Linked DNA regions of Homo sapiens: regions 2 and 3 are each linked to region 1. Evidence: promoter capture Hi-C in 16 types of primary human blood cells and fetal thymus (Javierre and others, 2016). All regions are on one chromosome and are shown on one strand. The core of a region is centred on a gene start or on the middle of the fragment in contact, and the rest is flanking DNA. Distances in the headings are between cores, read along the strand shown.

Region 1 (4,588 bases), core at 1,183-3,682:
GGGGCGCGGTGGCTCACGCCTGTAATCCCAGCACTTTGGGAGCCTGAGGCGGGCGGATCACGAGGTCAGGAGATCAAGACCATCCTGGCTAACAACGGTGAAGCCCCGTCTCTACTGAAAATACAAAAAAATTAGCCGGGCGTGGTCGCGGGCGCCTGTGGTCCCAGCTGCTCAGCAGGCTGAGGCAGGAGAATGGTGTGAACCCGGGAGGTGGAGCTTGCAGTGAGCCGAGATCGTGCCACTGCACTCCCAGCCTGGGCGACGGAGCGAGACTCCGTCTCAGAAAAAAAAAAAAAAAGGCTGAAACTAGGAGGGAGAGAGGTGCTCTAAGAAAGACAGGATGCAGTTGTTGAGCCCCCAACCCCTTCCTGTTTAACTGAAAAGCTGACCCTGAGCTAGGAGGCAGGGTCCAGGCACAAATGGAGGCTGTGACCAGGACTGAGCTGCCTATTCTCTGCCTTTCCTACCTGGCTACAGATCGTTCAGAAAGAGGCAGAGCGGGCCGAACGGGCCAAGGAGCGGGAGAAGCGGCGAAAGGAGCAAGAAGAAGAAGAGCAAAAGGAGCGGGAGAAGGAAGCCGAGCGGGAACGGAACCGACAGCTGGAGCGAGAGAAACGTCGGGAGCACAGTCGGGAGAGGGACAGGGAGAGAGAGAGAGAAAGGGAGCGGGACAGGGGGGACCGAGATCGGGATAGGGAAAGGGACCGAGAACGAGGCAGGGAAAGGGATCGCAGGGACACCAAGCGCCACAGCAGAAGCCGGAGTCGGAGCACACCTGTGCGGGACCGGGGTGGGCGCCGCTAGCTGGGAAAACACTAGAGCTGCAGGTACCAGCCACTCGGCCCCAGGGGGTTATGGCCACAGAGGGATAGGCACAGTCTCCACCACCCTGGAGCCAAGGGTCTTTCACATCACCTATCCCTACATACATACCAAATGGAAAAGTGGCCATCCTTTTCCCCCCAAACACACCCCCTTAACCTATCTCTTGGGACTTAGCCCGACCCTCCCTCTCATTTCCCATTAAGTCTGAGAGGCAAGAGCTAGGTTAGGCAAGGAGGTGGTTGGCCAGAGATGGGGAACAGCCAGGTGCCCCAGTCCTCTGATTTTTCCTCCATCCTGCTTACCACCTCCCTGGGTACTTACAGCCTTCTCTTGGGAACAGCCGGGGCCAGGACTGGGTCACCTATGAGCTGAATCAGCATCTCCTCCTGAGTCCCAGGGCCCCTGCAGTTCCCAGTCTCTTCTGTCCTGCAGCCCTTGCCTCTTTCCCACAGGTTCCACTTTATATCCACCTTTTCCTTTTGTTCAATTTTTATTTTTATTTTTTTTATTATTAAATGATGTGGTCTATGGAAAAAAAAATAAAAATCTGACTTAGTTTTAAACTGTGTGAGTGGCTTTCTTTGGGCAGGTTAAGAAGCCACTGTGGATATCTGAGCGTGGACATCTGAGGATATCTGGAGTAGGAGTTGCTCTCATTCCATGTGTTCCTTTAGGCTGACTGCTTCCTGCTTATTGAACTTCCCACGTCTTTTATCCCCTGCCTTGGCCCTGACCAACCCAAAGCTGTGGACCTTCCTCATTCGGGAAGGCATGGAGCAACCTGTGTCCGTGGCGGCACCCCAGCAGGGCTAGGAGGGTGGGTCCTCTTCTGGTTCCTGGTCCTGTGCACGGTTAAATTAGGGGTTTGGTCACCTGCCTGCCACCTTGGTGCCTCCCACAACTACCACCAGGGGGCGGCAGCTCCTCGCTCTGTTGGCCCCTGTAACCGAGCTTCCCAAGAAGGGTTCCACTGCCCGCCTCCGACCTCCCGCCGATGTCGTGCCTCTGTTCCCGACCCGCTCCCTGGGCCCGGGCCTCGGACTCTCTGGACCCTTCTGCCGTCCTTAAGTGTCCCCCAGCTGACCTGCTACCGTGCTTTGCATGGGCTCTCAAAACGCCGCCGCCTTGCAGCTGGGATTCCATCCACACCAGTCCCAAAAGCCAGCCGGGAACCGGGAGCCCGGAGCCGGGTCTCTCCGCAGTGGGCTCCGAATTCCCCACCTCACCGCGCGCTCGCCCGTTTTCCGCTGCGGGCGGGGACTGGCAGCTTCGCGCTCCCGGGTGCACCCGCCCCGCCAGCTCTTCGGAAATGGCCTGGCGCCGTGGCCTGGACGTCCTCCCGCCCGAGTGCCCTGCCGGGCGCTGCGGGCCCGGTCCGGGAGGGGCGCCGCATCTGTATGCGCCCCGCAGCCCAGGAGCGCCGAGGGGGCGGACGCGCGGCGCCGCCTCCGCCCCCGCCCCCGCCGCGCGGGCCCGGCTGGCCGGGGAGGGTCGGAGGCTGGGCTCTCCTCTCCCGCGCGGCGCGGAGCCGCCTCGCTCCTCCGCAGGCGGAGTCTTCTTCCCCCGCCCCCTCCGTCTCGCTCCCTTGTTCTCGCCGGGGCCGCTCAGACCTGCAGCGGAGCCGCGGCGCCCGCTCCAATCGGCTCGGGGCTGTGCCCCCGGGACCCGGCGACGGGGGCGGGCGGGGGCGCTTCCCGCCGGCCTGGGCCCCTCGGCAGTGCCAGGTAAGGGCGCCTGCCCCGGAGCAGGGGTCGGGAATCCGCGGAGGGGTAGGAGGGGGCCCGCAGCCTGCGGGGGTCTTCGGAGGGGTGCGCTCCGTGGCTGGGAGCCCGCTGCCGGCTCCCTTCTCCCGCGCTCTGCCTCTTTCCCTTCTCCCCTCGCACCTCTCTCCCTCTTTCTTCTCTCGATTTCTCTTCACCCTTCCTTCTCTGCCTGTTTGCCTTCCTTATCCCTTCCCTCTGTCTCCCCAACCCTTCCCTCTCCCTCTTGTCCTTTTTCCATCTCCTCTCCCTCTTTGCCTTTTTCTTTCTCTACCTTTCTCCCCTTTCCTGCCTTTCTCTTTTCTCTTTCTTGCTCTCCTTTCCCTCCCTCTCCTCTCCCCTTCCTGCTATCCTGTTTCCCACTCCTCTATCCCCTTCCTTCTCGCCTCCTCATCCCGCCTTCTCTCTGGTCCCCAGCCTTCCTCCGGTTTCCCCCTTCCCTCGGGAGCAAAGGGACTGTCAGGTGTGTGTCTGCTCTGAGGGAGGAGGGGCAGAAGCCACAGCTACCTGAGGGGTCCTCCCCCCCGCCCCTAGGAGAAAGGAGAGCAGTGGGAAGGGTCTCCTCTCTAGCTCCCTTCCCGTGGCCCCTCCCTGCCTCCACCCCTCCTGTCTGCTCCTTCTCCCAGAATTAAGTTCCCGAGGCCTGGCTTGACACCCCCGAAGCTGAGGTCTGCCCCTGCCTGCCCGGAACTGCCCCCGGTGACCCGTTTCCAAGCCTGGCCCCTAGGACTCCTCTCTGCCTTCAGACACCCAGGCTGCTGCCCTGGTCTCTCTCATTCTGTCTCTTGCCACTGTTCTGTTTCTGTCTCTCATCCAGTCATTTCTCTGCCGGACAGTCCCTGAGTCAGTCTAGCCGTCAGTCATTATCTGTCTCTAGCCTCTGGGTGGACCTCTCTCCCCGGTCACCTCCCCCTGTCCCCCACCCTGTATCCTCTTCCTTCAGCTCTGGCTCCCAACTCCTGTCTCACGAGCCCAGTCCCCCTTCAAGGACTGCACTGGCAGCGTGGGCTGGAGACAGGGCCTGGAGAGTGGGGCTCCCCCTTGTGGGGAGGGACTTTCACAGACTCTCAGCCCTGCCTGAGGCTGCACTCCTTGTCATCTCATGCTGACCCTAGACACCTTAAGGCCACACCTCCATGAATCCCAACTCCGTAATTTTAAGCCCTTTCTCTGGTAGCCCCGCCTCCTCCAATACCTGGCTACGTGCCCAACCTGGGAGGACAGAGACCAGATTTGGGATTCCAAGCCCTCCCAGCATCCCCTCTCCTGTGTTCCTCCCCAGTTCTCTACTCAGAGTTGACTGACCAGAGATTTATCAGCTTGGAGGGCTGGAGGTGAATACATGCAGAGCCTGGGTGGAGGAAGGATCAGCCTCTCTGCTCTCTGTCTTAGTCTGAGTTCTGGGCAGTGGAGTGTCTGGTTCCTTGGAGGTCTGGTCTTCAGCATCTAATTTTGCGGGGGAGGAGGGCTAGGGGTTTCCTTGAGCCTGAGCAGCTGCTTGTCCTGCAGGTGTGGATCCATGGGGTAGCCTCAACGCATCTGCCCCTCCACCCCAGCCAGCTCATGGGCCACGTGGCCTGGCCCAGCCTCAGCACCCAGGGCCAGTGAACAGAGCCCTGGCTGGAGTCCAAACATGTGGGGCCTGGTGAGGCTCCTGCTGGCCTGGCTGGGTGGCTGGGGCTGCATGGGGCGTCTGGCAGCCCCAGCCCGGGCCTGGGCAGGGTCCCGGGAACACCCAGGGCCTGCTCTGCTGCGGACTCGAAGGAGCTGGGTCTGGAACCAGTTCTTTGTCATTGAGGAATATGCTGGTCCAGAGCCTGTTCTCATTGGCAAGGTAAGGATGACCCCTCCCATGTCTACTCTGACACCAAGCCCTCAGGCCCTGCCCTGCAACTTCATCACTTCTGCAATGACCTTGGTCCCTCAGGACTCCCAACGCTCTACCCAAACCTAGACTCTTTAACCCTGTCTCTGTACTTGGAGCCCTCTGCCATCTTTTCGTG
Region 2 (4,588 bases), core at 874-3,373, 110 kb after region 1:
GATCTCAATTTCTTACACTTTTTTCTCATGCCTGTGCTGTTTTGTATCTACATGGGTTACTCAACTCTACTGACAATTATAAGTATTTGGGCCAGCTGGCCAGGTGTGGTGGCTCATGCCTGTAATCCCAGCACTTTGGGAGGCCAAGGCGGGCGGATCACCTGAGGTTGGGAGTTTGAGACCAGCCTGACCAACATGGAGAAACCCCGTCCCTACTAAAAATACAAAAATTAGAGGCTGGGCACGGTGGCTCACACCTGTAATCCTAGCACTTTGGGAAGCCGAGGCGGGCAGATCACGAGGTCAGGAGATTGAGACCATCCTGGCTAACAAGGTGAAACCCCGCCTCTACTAAAAATACAAAAAAAAAAAAAAAAATAGCTGGGCGTGGTGGCGGGTGCCTGTAGTCCCAGCTACTTGGGAGGCTAAGGCAGGAGAATGGCGTGAATCTGGGAGGTGGAGCTTGCAGTGAGCCGAGATCGTGCCATTGCACTCCAGCCTGGGTGACAGAGTGAGACTCCGTCTCAAAAAAAAAACAAAAAACAAAAAATATTAGCCAGGCATGGTGGCGCATGCCTGTAATCCCAGCTACTCGGGAGGCTGAGGCAGGAGAATCGTTTGAACCCGGGAGGTGGAAATTGCAGTGAGCCGAGATCACGCCATTGCACTCCAGCCTGGGCAACAAGAGCAAAACTCCATCTCAAAAGAAAAAAATAAAAAAGAATTTGGGCCAGCTGTGGTGACTCACACCTGTAATCCCAGCACTTTGAGATGCCAAGGTGGGAGGATCACTTGAGCCCAAGAGTTCAAGACCAGCCTGGGCAATGTAGTGAGACCCTGTCTGTAAAAAAAAAATTAGCCAGTCATCGTGGTTTGCCTTGTAGTCTCAGCTCCTCAGGAGGTGGAAGGATCGCTTGATCTGGGGAGGTTAAGGCTGCAGTGAGCTGTGATTGTGCCACTGCACTCCAGCCTGGGTGACAGAGTGAGACCCTGTCTCAAAAAGAAAAAAAAAAAATTGGTTAGTTGAACGTTTAACTTACTCTAAGTGTATTCTGTTAGTCTTGTTTATGCGACTACATATCACATCCAAAGTTGGAACTTCACGTGTTGTGTTTCTTTCCCCCTACTTCAAGAACTCTATTAATTTTGGATGAATGAGGCATTTTGTGTATTGTGATTCCTACTAACGGTCCCTTAATTTTTATTCTATTTGTCTAATATGTACCAACTGCATTTCCGTTTCCTAAGATCTTAGTTTATTACTTATTCCCCCTTAATATCCTTGTATATAATATAAATGCTTGTTACCTTGAATATTACCCTTGTTTATTTGTGGATTTTTAAAAAATCTCATTAGATTTAGCAATCTTTCCTATAAAAATCCTAGGGGTTTTTTGGAAGTATTAAGTTATGCTCAGTTATGTAAAGTAAGAGTCCACACCTTTTTTGTTTTTTTGTACCTGTGGGGACATGATGTTAAGTGTGCAGCAAACAACTTCCTCCTTGTAACCTGAGTAAAGAGGACCTGTTACAGAACCCATACTTCAGCAAGCTTCTCCTGAATCTCTCACAGCATGTGGATGAGAGTGGCTTAAGCCTCACCCTAGCAAAGGAGCAGGCTCAGGTAAGGGCTTTGGGAGAAGAGATAAGAAGAAGGGAAAATCCTGAGAGAGAGGTTCCTACCTGAGATTTTTTGGATTTCTAGGCATGGAAGGAAGTTCGACTGCATAAGACAACATGGTTGAGGTCTGAGATTTTACACAGAGTCATTCAAGAGTTGCTTGTGGACTACTATGTGAAGATACAAGACACAAATGTAACTTCTGAGGACAAAAAGGTGAGGCAAAGGCTGGGCGTGGTGGCTAACACCTGTAATCCCAGCACTTTGGGAGCCCCAGGCAGGCTGATCACTTGAGGTCAAGAGTTTGAGACCAGCCTGGCCAACATGGTAAGACCCCGTCTCTACTAAAAATACAAAAATTAACCAGGTGCAGTGGCACACGCCTGTAATCCCAGCTACTCGGGAGGCTGAGGCAGCAGAATCGCTTGAACCTGGGAGGCGGAGATTGCAGTGAGCCGAGATTGCGCCACAGCACTCCAGCCTGGGTGACAGAGCGAAACTCAGTCTCAAAAAAAAGTGAGGTGAAAGAAATGAGGTGGGGTTGGTTACCAGTTACAGGAATGACCAGGCCAACTGTGGCTTTGTCTGATGATGTGATCTAGGGGAAGTAGGAGCTTTGAGAAATGGTTTGTCAAAAGAGAAATGGACTGTAGTTATGGGGAAGGAGTGGATGTGTTATCAGAGTTTGTAATAGAAACATTGACAGAAGTCACTCGCAGCTGAGTTATCTGAGGGGGGATGATATATTTGAGGACTTTGAAAATATGTGAAAAACTGGTTCATAAGGATGGAAGAGGTGGAGTGGGAGAAGTTTTATAGTTGCCTCTTTTTGTTTTTTATTCTCTCTCTCTCAGTTTCATGAGACCCTTGAACAGCGGCTGCTTGTAACTGAACTGATGCGGCTCTTAGGTCCTAGCCAGGAGAGGGAGATACCTCCACTGCTGGGGCTGGAGAAAGCGGACCTTCTGGAACTCATGCCACTCTCAGAGGTTGGCGGGGAGATATTGGAACCAAATAAATGAAATGGTTTAATTTCTCCCATATCTTTAAAATGTTTTTTTTGTCAAGCTTTATTGTTTTTGTAAAAATGATACACATTCAGGGTGGTCAGACTCAAATAAGAAAAACGTTACACAGGAGCAAGTAAAAGCTGAAATACTGCATCTAGAAGCACAATATTATTATAAACAGCTTGACATAAATGGTATTATACCCTTCATGCTTATATAGAGAGTATAAGGCCGAGTGTAGTGACTTCCGCCTATAATCGTAGCACTTTGGGAGGCTGAGGTGGGAGGATCACTTGAGTTCAGGAGTTCAAGACCAGCCTGGGCAACATAGTGAGACCTCGTCTCTACCAAAAAAAAAACAAAACAAAAGCCAGGTTTGGTGGTGCACACCTGTAGTCCCAGCTACTCGGGAGACAGAGGCAGGAGGATGACTTGAGGGTGGGAGGTCAAGGCTGTAGTGAGCTGTGATCATGCCACTGTACTCCAGCCTGGGCACAGAGTGAGACCCTGTCTCAAAAAAAGAAAAGTACAGTCTATTTTCATGTAATATATTTTGGATTTCTTTTCAAGTCAATACATAAATGTAAATAAGATGATAGCTTCTATAGCACTGTTAGCAAAGTATCTAGGCACATAGTGCTTAGTGTTATGTCATCAGTTTAAATCTCTGCTAGGATTCTATTATATGGATGTAGAATAATTTGCTTAACCTTATTGGTGGATATTAAGGTTGTTTCCACATTTTTGCTGTTAGAAACCACAGGGAGATGAACATGCTGGTTCATATGTGTCTTTACCTTTGTATGATTATTTCTGTAATGCTGGTGCTAAAAGTGGGATTCCTGAGTCAGTGCATACTCATACAGAATATTGGTACCTAATGCCAAACTGCTATCCAGAAAGGTATTTTCAGGGCTCCTGGATCCCCCATGTTCTCACCAACATGGGGTCTTGACAGTCATTTTATTCTTCGCTAATTTGATAGGTGAAAAATGAGTCTCTCTGATGTCTCTTGATGCATTTTCTTTGGCTATTATTGAGGTTATCATCATGTATTCATTGGCTGAGACGTCCTAGTTTTTACAGTCTATTCGCATTTCTGCCTTTACTTCTATGACTGTAGGATTTTGTGTGGATGAGGGCTCGGCTACAGCAAGAAGTAGAGGAGCAGCTCAAAAAGAAATGTTTCACTCTGCTCTGCTACTATGATCCCAATTCAGGTGAGTGCTAGCTGTCTGTTCTGCTCACAGCTGGACTTCAGGGTTCCTGGTCTGCTCTTTTGAGAATAATATATTTTGATTTTAGATTTGGGACAGAGGTTTAGAACCATCAGAGATGCTTATTTGTTTTGTTGCTGGTAGAATAAAAACAAGGACTTTTTGTTTTTTTGTTTTTTTTTTTTTTTGAGATGGCGTTTTGCTCCTGTTGCCCAGGCTAGAGTGCAATGGCGCCATTTCTGTTCACCGCAAGCTCCTCCTCCTAGATTCAAGTGATTCTCCTGCCTCAGCCTCCCGAGTAGCTGGGATTACAGGCATGCGCCACCCCGCTCGGCTAATTTTGTATTTTTAGTAGAGATGGGGTTTCTCCATGTTGATTAGGCTGGTCTGGAACTCCCAACCTCAGGTGATCCGCCTGCCTCGGCATCCCAAAGTGCTGGGATTACAGGTGTGAGCCACCACACCCGGCCAAAACAAGGACCTTTGTAAGGACTCTTTTTATTCAGCAAGATACTGAGTGGGAGTGTCCTCCTGCTGCAGGGAAGGATGAGTTCTCTCAGGAGGTTCAGAATGGTTTAGGGAGGAAAGTTCAGACTCATAGAACACCTTATACTCTCTGTATAAGCTTGGAGGGTATAATACCATTTATGTCAAGCTGTTTATAATAATGTGTTTCTAGACGTAGTATTCATATTTCAGCTTTTACTTGCTTCTGTGTAATGATTTTCTTATTTGAGTCT
Region 3 (4,588 bases), core at 806-3,305, 86 kb after region 1:
GCTTAGTCCTTTCTGAATCTGACTCTCCCAGAGTCAGGACTTTCTAAGACTAGGGACTCTGGTCAAACTTCTTGAAAGACAGGCTTGTGTCATTATTTCTGCTGCAGCAGTGACACCTGGTGTCCAGCTGAGGTATTAGTATTTTCTCAGATTGCTCTTCCATCCCTTCCATCCTTCCCTTCCCACCCCATCCCTTTCTTCCAGTTATTAGGAGTCAGGTGTTGAGCAGGGCAGACTCCTAAGATACCCTCAGTGTCCAAGGTGCCTAGGCTGAGGTGAACTAGGTGCCTTCTTCCCTAGGACTGCCGGATGCAGCTGAGTGATGAGGAAGGCTGCTGCTGTTTCCCTCTGGATGGGCACTTGCTCTGCCATGGTTGCCACATGCAGCGGCTCAATGCCCGACAACCCCCTGCCAACTATATCTGAGCTGCAATCACTGCTGCTGCTGTCACCCTGCAGACAAACTGCTGTGGCCAGTGGGCCCCTCTGAGGCCAGCCAAGGCAAAGAATGCACTCTGCAGGCCTGGCAGAAGAGTCCTCTGGGGAGGACCCCAAGGGCCGGAGACCCAAAGATCATGATATTCCAAATGGATTGTGGAAGAGAAACCTTATATTTACCAGGGTGGGGGCGACTGGCCTTTTTCCCATGTGTGCAGTCTGAGCTTAGGCACACACAGGAGGGTTCCAGGACTTTCTGAACATCTGATTCTGTATCTTCAGTATATATATTTTGTTTGTTTTAGAGATGGGATCTCACCATGTTGCCCAGGCTAGTCTTGAACTCCTGGGCTCGAATGATCCTCCCACCTTGGCCTCCCAAAGTGCTGGGATTATAGGCGTAAGCCACTGTGTCTGGCCTAGTGTATGATTATGCATGAGTCACGCAATGTTCTGGTCCTGGATTCCAGGAGTAGAGGACCTAGCTTTAAATCAATTAGTTTCAGCTAAACTGACTAGAACCAAATCAAAGTGTAATTCTCCCTCCAGCTCCCCCAAACCCCAGAGTTTTGGGGTTGTGGTTGATGCAGTGTGGGATGTCCCTGAGAGGTAGCAAGTCTAGGGTGGTGAGTTCCTGCTAGGCAACCAAATTTAAGCTCCTCACTTTTTGTGACACATGGTGTCAGATATGGGGTCCCGCACCTATATCTGGATGAAGAGGTAGAAACTCTGGACCTCATTAATGAGTTATTTCTTGGCCTTCTTCTAAGGACTAGGAGAGCTCCTTATCTGTCTGAGAATGGGGACCAGCTCTGAGTGGGGTTGCTGCCTGTATTCCCTGTTTCTCAGGAACTTACATGGGTCTGGGGAGGCTAGGTAGGTGATTGTACGTGGTTGCTCTTCTCCTTGGCTGGGGGAGGTAATGAGCAGATCTCTGTGGGTGTGGAGCTTGTTGGGGGGATGTCTAGGAAGCTTCAGCTTAGCCACATTCCCAAGTTTAGGTGCACTGAGCCATATAGCCCAGTGTATGCATGTGTGGGTGTGTTCATGCACACACACACTCTCTCTCTTGTCTCTCTGTCTCTCTCTCACTCTTTCTTACTCTCTTCTCAGGTCACTTGTACACTTGGTTTCCTAGTAGAAGCTCACTTGCCACCTCTCAGAGGGGTCCCGGATTGCATCCATCACAATCCCAAAACTAGAGTTGGGGGGAACTGGAGGGAGCAAAACACTGATTTGATACTAGTCAGTTTGCTTGAAACTAGTTCACCTAAAGCTAGATCTCTTAAAACCAATTTACTGAAAACTTGTTTGCTTAAAGTTAATGACTTAATGACTAATTTGCCAAAAGCTCAATTCCTATTTTGGTGTGTTTATATCCATTTAGGTGTCCTATTCTTTTTTGTCATGCTTTGGATATTTCAAGGATTTATATCTATTCATCCAAGAGTACTTCTGAGCTATTATCAGCAACATAAATTTATCAAATTTGCAGCACTTTGTAAATGATGAGATTGCTTCCTACCTTTATGGATGTCTTTTTCTATGTTATCTACCATTCAAAAACTTTTTTAAAAAGTTTAAAGTTTCTAGCAATAAATACAATTGGTACAGACATTTTGTGTATCATTTTTTTGTTTCTTAATCCAATATTCCTTTACAAATTAAATGCCTTGAAAAATATAATGGAGTTCAATGTGATTTTGATGCTTTGGTCTAACTTCTACATTCCTACTGTTAAAAAGGCCAGTATATCTTAAACAAATGAATAGGCATGAGGCATATTCAGTTGACTTACAATGAAAAGTTATACAGACAACAGTAATAACTAAAAGGGTGAATCTGCTAAATCCTTTTGAAATGCTGCAGATTTGATAAATATTTATTTTAGACTAATTGGTTTTAGGTGAATTGGTTTTAGGCAAATTAATTTAGTAATCTTTGATCTTTAGTCTTCATTTTCTGTCACTCAGTGAGTTTCTTACTGGAAATGATGACTCCTGACAACAGAATTTCCACATTTGGGGGCTATTCTAAGGTGACTATGCCAGCCAACCTGGGAAATACATAAAAGAGATCTCTGAGTGAGAGGGAAAGAGGTCAGATTTATACAACTGAGCGCCAGAGGGGAAAATGCACCTTGTTGGAGTGAGAAATGTTCTGAAACTGAATTACTTCTTGTACAGCTGAGATAGCTTCTTCTGAACTATTATTAAATAAGTGAATACAAAGGCCCTATGATGGGAAATCCAGACAAGCTTGTGTAACTTTACATCCATCCCCTCAGGGATATTTTTTTTTTTTTTTTTTTTTTTGAGACAGAGTCTCACTCTGTCGCCCAGGCTGGAGTGCAGTGGCGCTATCTCGGCTCACTGCAAGCTCCGCCTCCCGGATTCACACCATTCTCCTGCCTCAGCCTCCCAAGTAGCTGGGACTACAGGCGCCCGCCACCACACCCGGCTAATTTTTGTATTTTTAGTAGAGACGGGGTTTCACTGTGTTAGCCAGGCTGGTCTCGATCTCCTGACCTTGTGATCTGCCTGTCTCGGCCTCCCAAAGTGCTGGGATTACAGGCATGAGCCACTGTGCCCGGCTCTCAGGGTTTTTTTTTTTGACAGAATCTCGCTCTCTTGCCCAGGCTGAAGTGCAATGGTGCAATCTCAGCTCACTGCAACCTCCGTCTCCTGGGTTCAAGTGATTCTCCTGCCTCAGCCTCCTGAGTAGCTGGGATTATAGGCCGGCGCCACCACACCTGGCTAATTTTTGTATTTTTAGTAGAGACAGGGTTTTGCCATGTTGGCCAGGGTGATCTCAAACTCCTGACCTCAGGTAATCCGCCTGCCTTGGCCTCCCAAAGTGCTGGGATTACAGTTGTCAGCCACTGAGCCCTGCCTCTTTTTTTTTTTTTTTTTTTTAAGAGTTGGGAGTCTTGCCCAGGCACAGTGGCTCACCCCTGTAATCCCAGCACTTTGGGAGGCTGAGGTGGGAGGATCATGAGGTCAGGAGATCAAGACCATCCTGGCCAACATGATGAAACCTCGTCTCTACTAACAATAAAAAAATTAGCCAGGCATGGTGGGGTGCACCTGTAGTCCCAGCTACTTGGGAGGCTGAGGCAGGAGAATCGCTTGAACCCGGGAGGCGGAGATTGCAGTTAGCCATCGCGCCACTGCACTCCAGCCTGGGCAACAGAGCAAGACTCCATCTCAAAAAGAAAAAAAAAGGCCAGGTGCGGTGGCTCACACCTGTAATCCCAGTACTTTGGGAGGCCGTGGCAGGCAGATCACGAGGTCAGGAGATTGAGACCATCCTGGCTAACACGGTGAAACCCCGTCTCTACTAAAAGTACAAAAAATTAGCCAGGCGTGGTGGTGGGCTCCTGTAGTCCCAGCTACTCGGGAGGCTGAGGCAGGAGAATGGCGTGAACCCGAGAGGCAGAGGTTGCAGTGAGCTGAGATCATGCCAGTGCACTCCAGCCTCGGCAACAGAGCAAGCCTCCATCTCAAAAAAAAAAAAAAAAAAAAAGAGTTGGGAGTCTCACTCTGTCACCCAGGCTGGAGTGCAGTGGCACAATTATGGCTCACTGCAATCTCTGCCTCCCGGGTTCAAGCGATTCTCCCGCCTCAGCCTCCCAAGTAGCTGGGACTACAGGTGTGCACAACCATGACTGGCTAAGTTTAAAAAATTTTTTTTTAGAGACAGCATCTCACTATGTTGCCCAGGCTGGTCTTGAATTTCTGGCCTCAAGTGATCTCCCACTTTGGCCTCCTAAGTCACTGGGATTACAAGCATGAGCTTCTGTGCCCAGCTCCTGACCCTTTGTTTCTTACTCTGATTTTGGCCTCTTCTGTTCCTGATCCGACTCATTCCTTTCTAGGTCTGTGCTGATTGTCCTAGCCTTGGGGCTCCCCAAGACTCTGTTCTTGCCACTGAGGCTACTTCTTCCTGAGGAAAAATAAATGATAACAGCTGATAAGGGCAGGCCATGAAAAAAGAGCAGTCCTAGCCACCCCAGCACCATCACTGGCAGGCTCCCAGGTGTACCCTGCATCACAAGAGCTTCCCTTCTTCCTATTTGCTGGGAGACTAATCCTCCTCAATATTTCTGTTTAGTATTTACAGTTTTTTAGTATTTACAGTTGATGATGAA

What was found. Contacts are between HindIII fragments. The CHiCAGO score rates a contact against its expected background, and 5 or more counts as called.
Region 2: a fragment that was not itself captured here is called in contact with the fragment with the promoter of CDH24 in region 1 in 2 of 17 cell types (erythroblasts and M0 macrophages); the score reaches 7.4 in erythroblasts.
Region 3: a contact is called between a fragment that was not itself captured here and the fragment with the promoter of CDH24 in region 1, in 16 of 17 cell types (erythroblasts, activated CD4 T cells, M1 macrophages and 13 more). The highest score is 13.7, in erythroblasts.

What each region holds. Positions count from the first base shown.
Region 1 is chr14:23,055,364-23,059,951 of GRCh38, reverse strand. It overlaps CDH24 (cadherin 24), which reads left to right and starts at 2,432. Exons shown (of 13, transcript NM_144985.4): 1 at 2,432-2,549; 2 at 4,095-4,419. The coding sequence starts at 4,219. It overlaps ACIN1 (apoptotic chromatin condensation inducer 1), which reads left to right. Exons shown (of 19, transcript NM_001386863.1): 19 at 478-1,388. The coding sequence ends at 804. It overlaps LOC105370705 (collagen alpha-2(I) chain-like), which reads right to left and starts at 2,292. Exons shown (of 2, transcript NR_169511.1): 1 at 1,910-2,292; 2 at 1,303-1,667. RefSeq lists silencers at 2,203-2,352, 2,433-2,552. The HindIII fragment of the contact is 16,339 bases long and covers 1-4,588 here.
Region 2 is chr14:22,949,577-22,954,164 of GRCh38, reverse strand. It overlaps HAUS4 (HAUS augmin like complex subunit 4), which reads left to right. Exons shown (of 10, transcript NM_001166269.2): 3 at 1,482-1,624; 4 at 1,706-1,837; 5 at 2,476-2,610; 6 at 3,755-3,851. The region is part of intron 2 of PRMT5-DT (PRMT5 divergent transcript); the gene reads right to left. Among named protein-coding and RNA genes, the nearest start is that of MIR4707, 5.2 kb to the left of the region's middle. The HindIII fragment of the contact is 1,137 bases long and covers 1,555-2,691 here.
Region 3 is chr14:22,969,281-22,973,868 of GRCh38, reverse strand. AJUBA (ajuba LIM protein) reads left to right here. Exons shown (of 8, transcript NM_032876.6): 8 at 301-2,692. The coding sequence ends at 426. Among named protein-coding and RNA genes, the nearest start is that of AJUBA, 11 kb to the left of the region's middle. The HindIII fragment of the contact is 1,286 bases long and covers 1,413-2,698 here.